Linked DNA regions of Homo sapiens: region 1 is linked to region 2. The links are contacts of gene promoters, found by promoter capture Hi-C in blood cells and fetal thymus (Javierre and others, 2016). All regions are on one chromosome and are shown on one strand. Each heading gives the region's core, a stretch centred on a gene start or on the middle of the fragment in contact. The rest is flanking DNA. Distances are from core to core; before and after follow the strand shown. Region 1 holds the start of FOXC2 (forkhead box C2). Region 2 holds the start of HSBP1 (heat shock factor binding protein 1).

What was found. Contacts are between HindIII fragments. The CHiCAGO score rates a contact against its expected background, and 5 or more counts as called.
Region 1: the fragment with the promoter of FOXC2 here is called in contact with the fragment with the promoter of HSBP1 in region 2 in 6 of 17 cell types (total CD8 T cells, naive CD4 T cells, total CD4 T cells and 3 more); the score reaches 10.8 in total CD8 T cells.

What each region holds. Positions count from the first base shown.
Region 1 is chr16:86,565,258-86,568,155 of GRCh38, forward strand. It overlaps FOXC2 (forkhead box C2), which reads left to right and starts at 1,572. Exons shown (of 1, transcript NM_005251.3): 1 at 1,572-2,898. The coding sequence starts at 2,079. It overlaps FOXC2-AS1 (FOXC2 antisense RNA 1), which reads right to left and starts at 2,504. Exons shown (of 2, transcript NR_125795.1): 1 at 2,360-2,504; 2 at 1-61. RefSeq lists enhancers at 1,707-2,291, 2,292-2,875. The HindIII fragment of the contact is 11,287 bases long and covers 1-2,898 here.
Region 2 is chr16:83,806,621-83,809,601 of GRCh38, forward strand. It overlaps HSBP1 (heat shock factor binding protein 1), which reads left to right and starts at 1,358. Exons shown (of 4, transcript NM_001537.4): 1 at 1,358-1,501; 2 at 2,060-2,126; 3 at 2,685-2,805. The coding sequence starts at 1,457. The coding sequence ends at 2,803. RefSeq lists an enhancer at 1,152-1,653 and silencers at 1,311-1,487, 1,505-1,794. The HindIII fragment of the contact is 4,790 bases long and covers 1-2,981 here.

The sequences.
Region 1 (2,898 bases), core at 322-2,821, 2.8 Mb after region 2:
CATCCTTTTGCTGAGAATCGAATACGCAGCCGATGAACAGCCAGGAAGGGTGCAAGGAAACCTGAAATACAAATGTTCTCCCTGAAGCCCTCTTCCCTGCCCAACCAGACCAGCAACTTCCAAAATTCTGCCCGTGTTTAGCCTTGTTAAAGGGGTGTCTCACTCCTTCAGGGAAAGTGGGAAAAGGGGATCTGATTATTGAGGTGTGGAAGGAATAAATAATCAGTCCACAAATAAACAAACTGTCCGGGATTCCTAGAGGGAAGGAGAAATCCTTGAAGGAGATCCAAGTCGCTCCAGGTCTGCCTGCCGAATAATATCATCCCGAAGGGATCTTGAACCGTTTGCAATCAACCGCTCACCCAGTCTTCCCACGGAGCGCGCTCCCTAACTCACCCTACCCACCCAACAAAACAAAAAAAAGGCTGAAATATAGAAAAGCAACTTGGAGGCTCCCAGGGGGACGTTGCCAGGAGCAGGAGGCAGGGACAGCGCCCTAGGGTCGGTGTTAGCGGCCGGCGCCGGCCTGGGCCACGGGAAACGTCCACGCTTGGTGCCCGCGGTGCGCGGCGCTCATTGCGCGCGCCTTCGAGCCAAGCCCCCGCGGAAAACAGGCTCGGGTTTCTCCTCGCAGGGCCCAGGAACTCGGCTCTGCCTGGCCCGGGTGGGTCGCTGCATTGTCCCGGTCTTCTGGGAGTGCGGGGTCAGCTTGTTAGAGGGAATTTCTACCTGGGAAAAGGGAGACGAGTTTCGAAGCTGAAGTTGGTAGGCTGCGAGTGTCCACGCGGGAGACGAAAGGGGGAAATAGCAGAGTCACTTCACCCTTTTCCCCAAACCCCACAAAACTGCTCGCAGCGACGCGGATGATCTACCGAATTCCCCGCGAATTCGGAGGATTAAGTTGTCAGTCAGCACGTTGCTACCTTCCCCTCTATGCACTCCGCTGCCTGGCTCCTCGGCGGGGAGCGAGGGAAACTCAGTTTGTAGGGTTTACCTCTAAAACCTCGATAGGTTATCCTTGACGACCCCGAGCCTGGAAACTCCCTGTTGATGATTAATTATTTGATTAAATAAGTATAACATCCAGGAGAGGCCCTGCCATTCCAATCCAGCGCGTTTGCTTTGAATCCATTACACCTGGGCCCCCATAATTAGGAAATCTAATTATTCGCTTCATCACTCATTAATAAGAAAAATGTCCCAGGATCATTGCTACTTACAAGGTCTTTGGGAGAGATATTTTACTCTATTAATCCATTCTATTTTATATTTCAAATTGATTTTTTTTAACAGAGGAAAGTGGCTATCTTTTTGTTTTGGGCATGTGGGCCCATTCACCAAAATGTGATCATAAAATAAATTTTAATAAGATATAACTTTTTAAAAAGTTTTCAAGTGAAGACGGAGTCGCCGCGGAGGCCGGGGCGGCGGGGTCTTAGAGCCGACGGATTCCTGCGCTCCTCGCCCCGATTGGCGCCGACTCCTCTCAGCTGCCGGGTGATTGGCTCAAAGTTCCGGGAGGGGGCGTGGCCCGAGGAAAGTAAAAACTCGCTTTCAGCAAGAAGACTTTTGAAACTTTTCCCAATCCCTAAAAGGGACTTGGCCTCTTTTTCTGGGCTCAGCGGGGCAGCCGCTCGGACCCCGGCGCGCTGACCCTCGGGGCTGCCGATTCGCTGGGGGCTTGGAGAGCCTCCTGCGCCCCTCCTCGCGCGGGCCGAGGGTCCACCTGGGTCCCCAGGCCGCGGCGTCTCCGCTGGGTCCGCGGCCGCCCGCCTGCCCGCGCTGCCGCCGCCGGGTCCTGGAGCCAGCGAGGAGCGGGGCCGGCGCTGCGCTTGCCCGGGGCGCGCCCTCCAGGATGCCGATCCGCCCGGTCCGCTGAAAGCGCGCGCCCCTGCTCGGCCCGAGCGCCGCCGCCCGCGCACCCTCGCCCCGGAGGCTGCCAGGAGCCCGGGGCCGCCCCTCCCGCTCCCCTCCTCTCCCCCTCTGGCTCTCTCGCGCTCTCTCGCTCTCAGGGCCCCCCTCGCTCCCCCGGCCGCAGTCCGTGCGCGAGGGCGCCGGCGAGCCGTCTCGGAAGCAGCATGCAGGCGCGCTACTCCGTGTCCGACCCCAACGCCCTGGGAGTGGTGCCCTACCTGAGCGAGCAGAATTACTACCGGGCTGCGGGCAGCTACGGCGGCATGGCCAGCCCCATGGGCGTCTATTCCGGCCACCCGGAGCAGTACAGCGCGGGGATGGGCCGCTCCTACGCGCCCTACCACCACCACCAGCCCGCGGCGCCTAAGGACCTGGTGAAGCCGCCCTACAGCTACATCGCGCTCATCACCATGGCCATCCAGAACGCGCCCGAGAAGAAGATCACCTTGAACGGCATCTACCAGTTCATCATGGACCGCTTCCCCTTCTACCGGGAGAACAAGCAGGGCTGGCAGAACAGCATCCGCCACAACCTCTCGCTCAACGAGTGCTTCGTCAAGGTGCCCCGCGACGACAAGAAGCCCGGCAAGGGCAGTTACTGGACCCTGGACCCGGACTCCTACAACATGTTCGAGAACGGCAGCTTCCTGCGGCGCCGGCGGCGCTTCAAAAAGAAGGACGTGTCCAAGGAGAAGGAGGAGCGGGCCCACCTCAAGGAGCCGCCCCCGGCGGCGTCCAAGGGCGCCCCGGCCACCCCCCACCTAGCGGACGCCCCCAAGGAGGCCGAGAAGAAGGTGGTGATCAAGAGCGAGGCGGCGTCCCCGGCGCTGCCGGTCATCACCAAGGTGGAGACGCTGAGCCCCGAGAGCGCGCTGCAGGGCAGCCCGCGCAGCGCGGCCTCCACGCCCGCCGGCTCCCCCGACGGCTCGCTGCCGGAGCACCACGCCGCGGCGCCCAACGGGCTGCCTGGCTTCAGCGTGGAGA
Region 2 (2,981 bases), core at 108-2,607:
GAGGCGTTTGAACAAGAGCAACTCCATCTCGAATAGGAGCTGGGTAAACTGAGGCTGAGAACTACTGGGCTGCATTCCCAGACAGTTAAAGGATTCTAAGTCACAGGATGGGATAGGAGGTCAGCACAAGGTACAGGTCATAAAGACCTTGCTGATAAAACAGCTTGCGGTAAAGAAGCCGGCCAAAACCCACCAAAACCAAGATGGCAATAAGAGTGAACCCTGCTTGTCTTCATTGCTACACTCCCATTACCGCTATGACAGTTTACAAATGCCATGGCAACGTCAAGAAGTTACGCTATATAGTCTAAAAAGGGGAGGCATGAATCACCCACCCCTGGTTTAGCATATAATCAAGAAATAACTATAAAAATGAGCAACCAGCAGCCCTCAGGGCTCTGTCTATGGAGTAACCATTCTTTTATTCCTTCATTTTCTTAAACTTGCTTTCACTTTACAGACTCGCCCTGAATTCTTTCTTGCATGAGATCCAAGAACCCCCTCTCTTGGGGTCTGGATCAGGACCCTTTCCCGTAACAGCTCTAACACCTTACAGCCTCTCCCTAGCTAAAGTCAAACTGGAGCTGACCCCTCACATAGCACAGTCCTTAAATGAGATGTGTGAAAGTTTCCAGAACATGCCAGGCCCGCAGTCAAGGACTCTCCTATCCCCTTGCCATGAGACCCAATCCTAAAGACCACCTGTGGGGTTGGAACTTGAGGTTCCAAATCAGCAGTGCCCACCTCCTTCAACACCCAAACCCACAGTCTAACCCTGATGCCGGAAGCCTTCCCCACTCAACAGCAGGCATTGCGTGGAGTGAAAGAAGCCAGGCATGATGGACAGCTTCCTGTCTGAATCCCCTCATATGAACCTGACGGGCACAATGAACCTACTGGGCTAAACTCCAGACGCTGGCCACCTTCATAGGGTGGAGATGACAGAACAGGACAGGAGCCATGGGGCTCCCGGGGCGGGTAGGGGTGGGTCATGTTCCTTGGCTTGGGGGCAGTTACAAGGGTACAGTGGGGCTTGTTGAAGGGCAAAAGTTCTGTAAGTTCGTCCCGACAGGCCAAAGAAACCCCAGAGCCGTCTTTCGACTGACTACAGCCTGGAAGAGAGGCCAAGACCACTCCCTGCCTCTATTGCTCCATTTCTGAGTTGGTCTCACTTTCCACCCCACTGACGGCGCGCTGCGTGAGGGGCGGGGCATAGAGGGAGGGGAGGGGCTATGCGAAAGAAGGCGGGGAGAGTGGGGTGGGGCCGCTCCTTGGAACGGAAGCGCGCGGCCTCGAGGCCCTTCCGGTGCGGGAGAAACTACTACTCCCATAATGCCCCGCGGTCCCGCGAGCTGCCAGTCTCGTCGCGAGAAGCAGCGGCCCGGGGCGACTGAGCGGACAAACGGAAGTGTAGGTTACGGTCTGAGACATCACCGCCAAGCTGGGCATCGGGGAGATGGCCGAGACTGACCCCAAGACCGTGCAGGACCTCACCTCGGTGGTAAGGGACGGCTGTGAGGGCCGGAGGCCGCGGCCTTCCCGGGCGGCGCCGGGCCAAGCCCTGCTGGACAGAGGCGCGCCCACCGCGGCCGCGCGTGGCGTCTGCCGAGGCCCCGTTTCTGGAAGCGTCTCTGGCCGAGGCTCCCGGCCACCTTGACCCCCGGGGCGCTCGGTGCGGGCCAGTCTCCCCGCGGGCGCCCCCAAGCCCGACCCCTTCCAGTAGCCCCATTCATCTGTCGCGAACGCCCTCCGGGTCCCTCCCGCCTACCTCTGACACCCTCCCCGCCCTTCAACTCCTCACACACCCCCGGGTGCCCCAGCCCGGCAGAAACAACCTAAAGACCCTGAGCTTTGAGTCGCAGCGGCCTCCCCAGCCCAGCAGTCTAATTGGACAGGTTGGAAAACGGAAGCCCAGAGAAGGAAGATCTTGCTGAAGGCCGCACAGCTGTCCAGAGGCAGAAATGGGGCTGGAACCCCGGGACCAGGGCTTGCGTCCTGATCCCAGGAAGTTGTCTCAGGATCGATGTGGACCGTGTTTGTTTGTTTCGGTTTTTCTTAGGTGCAGACACTCCTGCAGCAGATGCAAGATAAATTTCAGACCATGTCTGACCAGATCATTGGGAGAAATATCCTTTTTATCTGCAGTCGGCCTCCTGTGGGCCTTTGGAGCCTATTTGCCGGGCAGTGGTGGGGATAAATGAGTAGTTTTCAGGCTAGCTTCAGCCATTCACTTGTAGAATTTGAGCTTGGATTGTACTGTGTTTCTGAGAAGGACTGCGCCGAGAGCTAGGGGCAAAGCTGAGTTAGACTCCTGGCTCAAGGAGCATACGTCTACCAATCCTAATAGCTGGTGTGGTGGACCATGCACTGTGAACTAAGCGCTTTTGTGTGTGTCTTTTGATGCTCAGCATGACCTTATGAGTGGGTTGTAGTGTTATCATCTTTAGCAAATGAATAAATTGAGGTTTAGGGGTTCCATCACTAGTAAGGGTCAGGGCTGGAATCCGATGCGGGGTAGCCATGCCCCACAGTCCTGTACTCTTACCCACCAGCGTGTAACAGTGTCGAAAGAAAATTGGAAGACCAGTTTCCCTAAAGTCGTTGTGTTTAAGGCTGTAGTCTGCAGGGACGGGAGGAAAAAGGCTCAATGAGATGTTGGCACGCGTTGTCTTTAACTTCAGCACTTGATGATATGAGTAGTCGCATTGATGATCTGGAAAAGAATATCGCGGACCTCATGACACAGGCTGGGGTGGAAGAACTGGAAAGTGAAAACAAGATACCTGCCACGCAAAAGAGTTGAAGGTGAGGAAGGGGGCAATTTTTTTTTTCTTTTCTTTTCTTTTTTTTTTTTTTTTTTTTTTTGACACGGAGTTTTGCTCTTGTTGCCCAGGCTGGAGTGCAATGGCACGATCTCGGCTCCCTGCAACCTTTGCCCTCCTGGGTTCAAACGATTGTCCTGCCTCAGCCTCCCGAGTAGC